4 separate regions of the Homo sapiens genome follow, and regions 1, 3 and 4 are each linked to region 2. Evidence: promoter capture Hi-C in 16 types of primary human blood cells and fetal thymus (Javierre and others, 2016). All regions are on one chromosome and are shown on one strand. The core of a region is centred on a gene start or on the middle of the fragment in contact, and the rest is flanking DNA. Distances in the headings are between cores, read along the strand shown.

Region 1 (2,700 bases), core at 9-2,508, 650 kb after region 2:
CCCAGCTAATTTTTTGTGTTTTTAGTAGAGACGGGGTTTTCACCATGTCAGCAAGGTCTCGAACTCCTGACCTCAGGTGATCCACCTGCCTGGGCCTCCCAAAGTGCTGGGATTACAGGCGTGAGCCACTGCGCCCGGCCAGCGTTTCAAGTTTTTAAGAGAATGTGTCCATTTCCCCTTCTCTTTTTATTTTATTTTTATTTTTATATATATTTTTAAATTTGAATTGCTTCTCTCTTTTTCTTGATTAGTTTTACTACTGGCTTTTCTATATTCCAACTTTTTTCAAAGAAATGAATATTTGGTTTGATTCATCTTCTCTCTTTTTGTATTATTCTTTCTTTCATTCGTGTCAGCCCTTATCTCGGGTGTTTGCTTGCTTGGGGTTACTCTTCTTCTTTGTGAAGCCTGTTGACTCAGAGCTTACCTCATTTGTTGTTTTTGAATGAATGCATTTAAAATTATAGTTTTACCTCTAAATATAACTTTCTTAGTCCTACAAATGTTGACATGTGGTCATTTTCTTGTCATTCAATGTGAAATATTTAATAATTTTCCTTATTTTTCTTCTTTATTACAAAGATGATGTATGTGTTGTTTTTGATTTTCATCTATATGGGATTATATACATTGATCCTTTTGATATTGATTTTTTTTCTTTTCTTTTGAGACAGTCTCGTTCTGTTGACCAGGCTGGGGTGCAGTGGCGCGATCTTGGCTCACAACAACCTCTGCCTTCCAGGTTCAAGCAATTCTCCTGCCTAAGCCTCCCACTTTTGATACCGATTTTTTAAATTTTATATAAGGCTAGAGAAGATGGGCTGAATGTTGCTGATTCTTTGGTATGCATTGGGCCCTCCTTCATGGGCTTATGTATCGCTCGTGTTCATGACTGTTCTGTGTGCACTTAGAGGCAATGCTCATTTTCTTTAATCTCTAATTAACCAAGATTATTCAAAATATTAATCGAAGCTTCTATGCCTTTGGTTATTACTTGCCTGCTTGATCTGTTAGCTTCAAAGGAATATTTTAAAATATCTAATTTATATTTTTATTTTTAATACTCTTTCCTTTTCTTTCTGATTTTTAAAATTTTGGCCTTAAAACAGTTTTGATACCAAAATTGATATACAGCTTTCTTTTCATTTATATTTGCCTGGGATATGTTTAATAACTTAAAAGAAACTTTCCGTATCCTTTCATTTTAAATAGGTTTCACATACATACACATGTTCGTACATATATACATACATCTATGTAATGAATAGCTTTCTTTTCTAATCTTTATTTAAAATAGCTTCATCAGATTAATAGTTTCTTTCCATTTCTAGTTTAAAATTTTGTTTAAAAAATCACAAGTAGTTGTTGAATTTTACAAATGACTTTCTATATTTATTCAGATGTTCATGTGACTTTTCTCCCTTAACCCGTTAACTACAGATTACATTATTTTGTTACTATTTTGTTTAGAAGTTTTATATTTATTTTCATGAGTGAGATTAGTCTACAATTTTCCTTTTTAAAACTATTTTTATTTCGGGAACAAAGCTTTGTCAGCTTTATAGAATAAGCAAACAAGCATTTTTGCTGTTTTCTATTCTGTAGAAAAGCTTTTATAAGATTGGCACTTTTGGTCTTTAATTTAAGGTTTGGCTGAACTCAAGAGTGAGGCCATCTGAAGCTGGGCTTTTCTTTTGGTTTTTGATGCTGATTCAGTTTTTTTTGTTGTATTTTAGTATTTTGTATTTTAGGGCAATTGTCGCTTTTTATTTCTTCTTGAGTCATTTCTGATGAGTTACCTTTACCTAAAAATTAGACTATTTCTTCTAAATTTCAGGAAAAAGTTATCTGTTATATTCTCTTGTTATCTTTTTAATGCCAGCAACCACTATCGTGATGCTCTGTTGAAAGCAGTTTGTGCTGTCTTTTGCCTCTGAGTCCAGCTCACTGGTGCTATGCCAAATTTATTAGTTCGTTGTTTGTTTGTTTTTGTTTTTAAAGAAAGTAACCTTTAGTGTTGGTCCTCTTTATTATGTTTGTTTTCAATTTTATTTGTTTGTGCTCAGAATTTTGTGATTTCTTTCTTTCTCACTTCTTCAGGTTTATTTTACTATTCTTATTCTAACTTCATGAGATGGACTCTTAGTTCATTATTTTTCAATCTTCTTTTCCATCATACACATTTTATGGCTATAGTTTTACTACATTCTGCTTAATTAAATTCCGTAAGTTGGGATATGGAGTCTTTTAATTAACATTCAGTTCAAGATATTTTCTAATTTGCATGTGTGAGTGATTCAGAAGCAGGTTTCTTAATTTGCAAACAGATGAGGATTTTCTGCTTAGGTTTTTGGATTTTAGTTCTCACTTTATTGCACTGTAGTTTTAGAAGACACTTTGCATGATAGCATACATGCTGTCTATGAAATTTGATGAGATTTACTTTATGATCCAGGACATAGCCAGTTTTAGAAAATAGTGTATTTGAGGTTATTGGATGCAGTGTTTTATATCTGTCCATTGATTTAAGTTTTTTTGTATTGTCAAGTCTTCTATATTCTTACTGAATTTTTTTAAATCACTGAGAGGATGTCTGTTAAAAAAAAAAAAAAGTCCAGGCCAGGTGTGTGGCTCACGCCGATAATCCCAGCACTTTGGGAGACAGAGGCGGGTGGATCACTTGAGGTCAGGAGTTGGAGA
Region 2 (2,718 bases), core at 1-2,500:
GCAGCTGCCGCAGCAGATGGTGGCGTCGCCGCCGTCGAAGCGCTCGGGACACTGGAAGCCGATGCGCCAGACGCCCTGCGCGTCCAGCCAGCCGTGGCAGTACTCGCCGCTGGCCCTCGCCCCCGCCGCCAGCAGCGCAGCCAGCAGCAGCTGCAGGAGCGAAGCGGCGTTCCAGGATGAGGAGACGGACGAGCGGCGAGCGCCCCACATGGCACCACCCTGGGCGCGGACAGCGCGTCTCCAGAGAGCGCAGGACGGTCTCCGAGAAGTCGTGGCCCCGGCGACCCCCGGGCCTCGTCACTGACTGTCCCGCGGCGCTTTCCGCGCGGGCCACTCCCCTCTGCCGCGACGCCCAGGAGGCGACGACGCCGGGCCCTAGGTCCAGGAGCTCCTAAGCCATCCCCGTCCTCAGCCGGTGGCCCGGTCCCCTTAGGGACTGCCTTATGAGTTGCACTCGCTGATGGAAATCTCGGGATGCAGTCAGAAGGCCCCCGGGGCTGTCGTCCGGAAGCCTCTGGAGGTTTCACTGGCAACCGGACCCTCCCTGAGCATCCCCGAAGGGATGCTCACTCGAGCCGAATGACCGCTGGGCGCGCCGCCGCGGACCTGGAGCCAGGGCTCTGCGCAGGGTTTAAGCCTCAGGGTCCCGCGCGCGAATCAGGGCCCGTCTCCCCTCCTTTATTCCCTCCTCGGGCGGGTAGAAGGGGCGAAGGCGGGCAGTGCACGCAAGGCTCTGGGCAGCAAGTGACGCAGCCGGCCGCGCTCAGCCTCCTCTGCCCCGAACTTGGTCCGCATGGCTCCGGCCGGGCCGCCCGGGCAGCCCACGGGGGTGCAGCCCCGACGCTCCACTCGGCGGGGCCGACGGCCAATCTTCCCAGCACGTCGCCGAGGGAGCGCTCCTGACCCCGGGAACGTCCAGGACGCAGGCGAGGGTCCTGCGCGCCCCCAGCCGCAGTCCCGGGAGCCTGCCCAGCTGGCGGCGGCCGCGGCTGCTGCTGGGCGCGGATCCAGGCGGGCGGCTCGCCCCGGTTCCCCTTCTCCGCCTCCCCGGCTGCAGCGCGGTCCCACAGGAGCCCGGCAGCCTCCGGCCGGCTCTCCCTCTCCCGGTCGCTGCCTCGCCCTCGGGAGGTGTGCGCACCGATGGAAGCCTCCCACGGAAGTTTCTTTCCTCCGGGCTACGGGAGAAGCCGAGCGCAGCAGCCGCCCACAGCCTCGCCTCGCCCCGCCCGGCGCCAGACCAGCTCCGACTCCGCTCGCTGCCGCGCTGAGCCGCGCTCTTATAGAGGCCGGCGGCTCCCCGGCGCGCATGCGCGCTGCGCGGCTCCCCCCCACCCCCGACCTCAGGGACGCCCGCGGGCGCCGGGCAGCCCCTCACTTTCCTACCCCGGGCAAGGAGAAAGGTGTGGCCAAGGGCGGGGTCTGCCTGCTGGAATAGGCGCGGGAGGAAACCCAACCTAAGCAATCCAGGCCTCGCTAACACAAATAACAATAATAACGGAAGAAACTCAACTTGCTTTGTGAAGATCTTTGGCATTCAACATTCGGTTCGATTCTGCAAACTTCTCAAGGGATTATGATTACTTTCCACTCTGCAGATCATAAAATCGCCACTCAGATGAACTCTCTCGGCTTCCAGCAGCTGATGTCCTGGCCACGGTTGGTCCCAGGCCCTGTGCAGGAAGAGCACCGATGTTTGTGGCAGGGTTCACACGCCTAGGGCTGTGTTTGGTGGACTGGAGGCCTCCACCACAAGGTGGAACGGAGAGAGTTCAGCAAAGATGTCACACATTCGGCCACGGTGTGGATGATCTGTGTCCCTTTTTCTTTCTATATTTGGGTGTGGTGATTTATCGGATTCCAGCAGGAAAGTGCCTCCGTCCAACATGTGGCCTTAGTGGTTTAGACAGCTGCAGTCAGGAAGAAAACAAGGTTCAGACAGACCAGAAATTCAGCTTTGATGAAGGAGAAATTAATAGCTTCTCTCTTGCAGAAGCTGGAACAACAGGTGCTGATGTTATTAAAGCAGCAGTGCTTATTTTTAAAGGAACGAATGCCCCTTCCCACACCGTCTGGGAGTCAGCAGACCTGAATTCTAGACCCAGCCCTACTAGCAGGGAATCACTGCGTTTTTCTGGTCTCAGTTTCTTCATCTATAAAGTGGAGCATAGGATGTGACGATCACTAAGGTCCCTTTCAAGTCCATGACTTCAGAACACAGGCAGTTTTATTCACAGCAAAGACACTCAGGTTCAAGCAGCCATTGGATGCTTGTGTATGCCTGGTTAATGTGAAGATTCAGACATTGTTGATTATTCTTCCACTTGCCCCAACAATGTCAAATCCAAGAAAAAAAACCCTACCCTATGTCCCTGCTCCCCAACACACACCTTATTCTTTTCACTAAACCTCTCTCCAAGCATTGCACTTTGTTTTCTTGCAGTTTTTTGGTTGTGTATCGTTTTAAGCTACACAAAATTATATACTTTAAATGCACTATTCACCAAATGTCTTAAGCTAGTAAGCTAAAAAAAATTTCAATGTCAAGAAATCATTCATTCAAGAAATACACGCCATGCACTTACAGTGTACTGTGCTCTGTGCTGGGTACTGGGACTCATCAAGAAGCCAGACAGCATGGCCATTTCCTTCAAATAGGGCCTAAAGTCTCCAGGGTAAAATACAGAAATCAGACAAAAAGACAAAGAACTGAATAAGCAA
Region 3 (2,700 bases), core at 9-2,508, 520 kb before region 2:
ATGTGGAACTTTTGAATGTTAAACTATTTTTTTTCTTTCTGTAACAGAAGCGACACAAGGCAGACAATGCAGTTAACAAAAAGAAAACAATAGGTAAGATCCCAGGCTGAAGGACTTTTTCCACTGGAAAACTTAAGAATAAGGCCTGCATTTAAGGAATTTTAAATAAGTAGTGAATGGTATTGAGATAAATTGGGAAGATGATCTATAAAATAAAGAAATAGTAAAATAACAAACAAACTGAACATAATTTTAGTCCTGATAATTAAGTTTGAACAGCATTTGTGTATTTTAGAATGTTAGAAAAGGTTGTAATTTTCAGGAACTAGACAGTTTTTATGTCCATAAAAAGTCTAAGCATTCATGTCCTTCATTTATAATCTCTCCTTACTTCCCTCTTCTACTTTTTATTGTTTTATTTCTACAACATCAATTTTTTGTTTGTTTGTTTCATTTTTTGAGACAGGGTCTCACTCCTGTTGCCCAGGCTGGACTACAGTGGCATGATCATGGCTCACTGTAGCTTTGACCTCCCAGGCTCAGGTGATCCTCCCACCTCAGCCTCTTGAGTAGCTGGGACTACAGGCAAGCACCACCACCCCCGACTAATTTTTGTATTTTTGGTAGAGATGGGTTTCACCGTGTTGCCCAGGCTAGCCTCAAACTTCTGGGCTCAAGCAGTCTGCCTGCCTTGGCTTCCCAAAGTGTTAGGATTACAGGTATGAGCCACTGCGCCCAGCTGTTCAGTTTTTTTTAAATTGTGGAACAGCAGGCTTTTTTTTTCTTCTGGGCTGAAAATAAGTAGATTTAACTTACATACATACATAAACATTTATGTGTATGCATGAATGTATATATGTTACAGAGGTACATACCATACGTTGGTGTTCCATTTTGAGGGTGGGGGTGCTGATGTTATGCCATCATGGCTAAAGATAGGGTATGTTAGAATTAATAAATGGAATTCTAAAAGAAAGCTTTTGGATTTTAGGAAGCTGATTCAATTTAACACCAGTATTAACCAATATTTTATTTTTCTCTTTTTCAGTGTTAAGAAATGGTATGTGGCATACCATTATGTGGAAAGAGGTAAAAACTAATTTTAAAGATGTACCAGTACTATTGGTTTGAAGACGCGTAATGAATTGCTGGTCTTGATTGCAGTATAAAGTTTCTGTTAGACACAGTAGAGTTTTCCATGAGGTCTGCTGAGACCTGATGCGTGTTTACTCCTTCCCTTGCACCTTCTAGTAAGGGCCCAATGTGTCACTTCAAGCTATGAACTTCATCGCTCCTGAGTGACGTTTCTGAAATCTCAAAGTATTTTCTAGTTTCTAAATCCAATTTGAGAAATATTTTCCCTGGTCCTCTGTTGTCTTAACCTAAGTTAAAGTTTATTTTTGTTTTTAGCATTTGTGATTCTCACTTTAAACATTTTTGGGTGGAAAGGTCATTAACTACAGAGTGGTGGAAAGGGGGCAAGAAACCACCCCATTTCCGTTCTAGCACAGCAGTTAGCTGCTCTTAATAATAGCAAGGAAAGCTTTGCTTCCACGTCCCTGGAAGTATGAGGTTTAGAGGGTTGAAGAATGGTGTGGTTTTTTGGTTGTTTATGGTGATGAGTAGAAAATTTAGAAGAAATCTGCCATACCATCTAGGTATTTTATATCTCATAAAATTAGCTTTTTAAATGAGTGTTTTAGCTGGACCTTCTTAATGGACACAAGATGTGTTGGGGGATGACTCTCATTAGTCCAGCATTCAAAGCCGATTAACATGATTTCAAAAGAAAACAGCTTTTTAGAAGGGTAACTTGAAGTGGTTCTTCTTGCTAAATAAACATTTAATAAACAATGTTTTTAAATGCCTCTTACAGTCTTTTATATCTGAAAAATGCCCGTGATATGGTAACTGCAGCATTTGCTTTAGTTTTCGTTTTACTTTACTTTGTTTTAGGAGAATTCGCCACCCTTTAAAGAAATTTCTCCTTTATAGTGTTTTACAGTAACACCTTAACCTTTGCTGCAATCTTGAAGTCGTATGCTGCAAACATTCATCAACCTCACGTTTGGAAAGGTCATGGTTCTTGGTCAGGAGGTTGGGAATTCTTGACTCAAAGTGGGAGAGATGCTCCCAATGCTGAAGGAATTCAAGGGTTCTCCCAGCACTGGGAAATTGCCCCTCTATTTCTCTAGGGTTCTTCTTGTTACTCCCTCCCCAGAAAGGTATCAGTATCAGCTAGAGTGAAGAATGATTTGGATTCAGAGGGCCTGACATTACTTGAAACAGCAGAAAATGGAGTGATGGTCTCTAATTGATGGTCTTCTGTGGTCCAGGAGCTGACAGCTTTGCAGACTCCTAAAACTCATGACTGTTTCCATCGTTCATTTGGGAGAAAAACAACAATAACAAAGAAACACCAGTTATGTACTGTACCGCATGCAGTTTTATTTCCATTTAAAATGTATTTACTTGGTTTATTTCAGTGGAGCTCCTGGCATGTGCCAGAGATTGTACTAGGCATGGGAAGAATGAAGCTCAGCGCTTCCCTTAAGGAGTTTCAAACTTCAGTGGGCATCCCAGTCACCGTCCACAGAGCTGCTGGAACCCAGATGGCTGGGCCCACTCCCAGGCTATCTGATTCACTGGGTCTCAGGTGGGGCCCTAGAATTTGCACATTTAAACAAATTACTAGTTGAG
Region 4 (2,700 bases), core at 192-2,691, 560 kb before region 2:
GCTTTAGTGCCTGCACGAGGAGCGAGGGACTTATTCCAGGTTTCCCTTTGTGCTTGGAAGGAAGATGTATTCTCCATAGGCTCCAAAATTCATTTGTTTAGACATTTTAATTACATTTTTTGAATCTGTATTTTTAGCCTGTCCAATTAGTCAGTTTGATAATAGCATCAATCTCCTGTTACAGCTTTCTTGGTCCATTTGCTTGTGAATTTTGTTTTACATGTTTTCATGTAAAACATAATTTACATTTTGAGTAAAATTTAATTTTATGTAAAATAAAGTGTACCACACTGGTGGTAATGTGGCTGTAATTTTTACTCTGGCCTTATGCTCATTAATTATTTCTGTCTTAAACTTGGTGGTGATGTTACTATTTTAGCCTTTCCTTTCTTTTTGCTCATGTTTGTGTTATATGACTACTCATAACTTTGTTTTTAATTTTTTGAAGTTACATAAGAAAATCCCCACAGAGATCCTTTTTCATTTGATGGGGGCGCTTAAACCATTTGTTGGTGTAACTTTTTGGTAGGGCATTTTTTGTTTTATGCTTTTTATTTTTGCTTCCTTGGTGTTTTCTCAACTCTTTGGCTTAGTTGAGAAAGCTCACTGTGGGATTACTAAACATATGCGGGAACCGGAAGTGAAGACATCAGTTGTCATCACGTTGATCTTGCAGAGTCTGTGGACATTCAGGTAGGTGTATCCAGAGAAGTTAAATATGCTGGTCTAGACAGAGCTTGTGGTAGACATCCAAGCTGGGGGTGAATTTGATAACCATTTGATGAGTACACTGGTGCTAATTTCAGCCATACATGGAAAAGATGGTTCAGTGCATTGAATAAAGACCAAAGGCAGAAAACCTCAGGGATGATCTCTGTTTCAGGGTCAGGAAAAGGAGTGTGGAGGGGAGGTGGCACAGGAGCCCTGGGAGGTGTAGGGGCTAACCAGGAAAGGAGGGCTGCCAGTAGGTGAGCTCAGGTGCAATGTTTATTGATTTGGGCAAGAAGAAGAGAGACTTCTTTATCAATAGGGTGGAAAGAGCTTTGGGAGTCGGTTTGTGTGTGTGGGTGTCAAGGTGAATCACGTCCACTCTAAAGCTTCAGTTTACTCCATGAAATGGGGAGGAGGCAGAGTGCTCAAAGTGAAGGGGCTGGGGTAGGGCGGAGAGTTTGAGGAGAGAGAACGGTTGGAACAGCCAGGATGGTGCATGGGGCAGGGAGCTGTCCAAGGTCTGTGGCACCAAGAACCTAGGTGACATCAGAAAACACATGTGGGTCAATGTCTGTTAAGGGACCCACTTAGAATTGCTGTGTTGAATAATGTACTTCCGTTTCTTAATCCTTTGGTGATTAAAAAAATTACAAGGAAAAGATCAGTCTGGGTCTGCTGCATTTAATTGTGTGTATAGTAGATGTAATCTCCAAGGTGGGCGGTGGGGGTAGTTGGAGGGATCGCTTTGACCTTTCTGCCACTGCAGAGACTCCTGCTGCCAATATTGAAACAATCATAAATATCTTATTAGGTTTCCTGGGAACAAAGCCATGCTGCAAAGGGTATGAAAGCCTGTTTGGCAGGGATGAAGGTAGGAAGGATTATATGAAAAGAGAGGAGACTGTGGGGACACAGCCCGCTTTTCTGTTTGTTTGCCTGCTTGTTTGTTTTTATGAGGGGCAGGCTCTGTGGTATCTGCATCTATATTTTAGAAGCGCGTTGCTGTTGTTCTGATATTCACAGGGCCTTCATCTGTGTTTAAAAAACTGAAAACATAAGGATAAAAACTGATTTGAAGCTTCTGACATTTTTATAATTGTTTTCAAACACAGTTAACAGCATCTTCCCTTTTACTGTTTTGGACACCTTCTGTCCGAATCCTTCTAGCTGTGAGCGAATTCGACTTTGTAATGATTTCTTTTTTCACAGTGATGTCAGCAAAATCACACAGACCTAGGGGTCCAGCCCGGAGCTTTGCAATGTCCTTCTAGTTCCCTAGAGGCCCTCTGCTGGCTAGCAGCCCTTGGGTGACAGCTTGCTTTCTTTTCACATCTCTTGCCTCTCAAATCTGTTTAAGATTCTGCTTCTTAAACTGTCTGAATTAGGTGTCTCCGCAGATTTCCCTGTGGCCAGCTACCTCCCAAACCAAACACCTATGTAAGCCCACCTTGGTTGTTGTTCCTGAGCACGTTGAGGACATTTGGGCAAACACAACAAGAACAGGAAGTCGACAACGTTCCAGTTATAACCTCCTGCTGCTGCCCTTCCAGGGTGGGGCTGGGCTTCTTCCAACCCACTTTACCACCTGTCTTTGTTCAGGAAAGGCCAGAGTGTGCCATTGCCTTGGAAATGGCCTGTGTAAGAGGCTGAGAAGGGGTTTGAATGAGTCCAAGAAGCAGCAGGATTGGATCTGGAAGGGTTGATGAGGACTGGGTGAGGTGTTGTGGGGTTGTGAGTCTTGTGTGGGCGAGAGCTGGAAAGCACAGATGGAGGTGGAAGGACCCTTCCTTACCTTTTCTCTGCTCTCTCTTCCTACCTATTTGGTTTTTTGGTTGTATTTTTGCTTTTTAAGAGACAGAGTCTTGCTCTGTTACCCAGGCTGGAGTGCAGTGGCATGATCGTAGCTCATTGCAGGCTCCAACTCCTGGCTTCAAGCCCTCCTCCTGCTTCAGCCTCCCAAGAAGCTGGGACCACAGGCATGCACCATGC

Evidence for each region. Contacts are between HindIII fragments. The CHiCAGO score rates a contact against its expected background, and 5 or more counts as called.
Region 1: a contact is called between a fragment that was not itself captured here and the fragment with the promoter of SHISA2 in region 2, in 3 of 17 cell types (total B cells, erythroblasts and naive B cells). The highest score is 7.1, in total B cells.
Region 3: a contact is called between a fragment that was not itself captured here and the fragment with the promoter of SHISA2 in region 2, in 2 of 17 cell types (megakaryocytes and activated CD4 T cells). The highest score is 5.4, in megakaryocytes.
Region 4: a fragment that was not itself captured here is called in contact with the fragment with the promoter of SHISA2 in region 2 in 1 of 17 cell types (megakaryocytes); the score reaches 5.5 in megakaryocytes.

The regions. Positions count from the first base shown.
Region 1 is chr13:26,701,039-26,703,738 of GRCh38, forward strand. No RefSeq gene overlaps it. Among named protein-coding and RNA genes, the nearest start is that of GPR12, 58 kb to the right of the region's middle. The HindIII fragment of the contact is 576 bases long and covers 971-1,546 here.
Region 2 is chr13:26,050,766-26,053,483 of GRCh38, forward strand. SHISA2 (shisa family member 2) reads right to left here and starts at 1,251. Exons shown (of 2, transcript NM_001007538.2): 1 at 1-1,251. The coding sequence starts at 210. LINC00415 (long intergenic non-protein coding RNA 415) reads right to left here. Exons shown (of 2, transcript NR_146971.1): 2 at 1,511-1,907. The HindIII fragment of the contact is 15,847 bases long and covers 1-2,718 here.
Region 3 is chr13:25,532,225-25,534,924 of GRCh38, forward strand. It overlaps ATP8A2 (ATPase phospholipid transporting 8A2), which reads left to right. Exons shown (of 37, transcript NM_016529.6): 5 at 48-93; 6 at 1,049-1,089. Among named protein-coding and RNA genes, the nearest start is that of ATP8A2, 160 kb to the left of the region's middle. The HindIII fragment of the contact is 566 bases long and covers 976-1,541 here.
Region 4 is chr13:25,492,916-25,495,615 of GRCh38, forward strand. The region is part of intron 2 of ATP8A2 (ATPase phospholipid transporting 8A2); the gene reads left to right. Among named protein-coding and RNA genes, the nearest start is that of ATP8A2, 120 kb to the left of the region's middle. The HindIII fragment of the contact is 692 bases long and covers 1,096-1,787 here.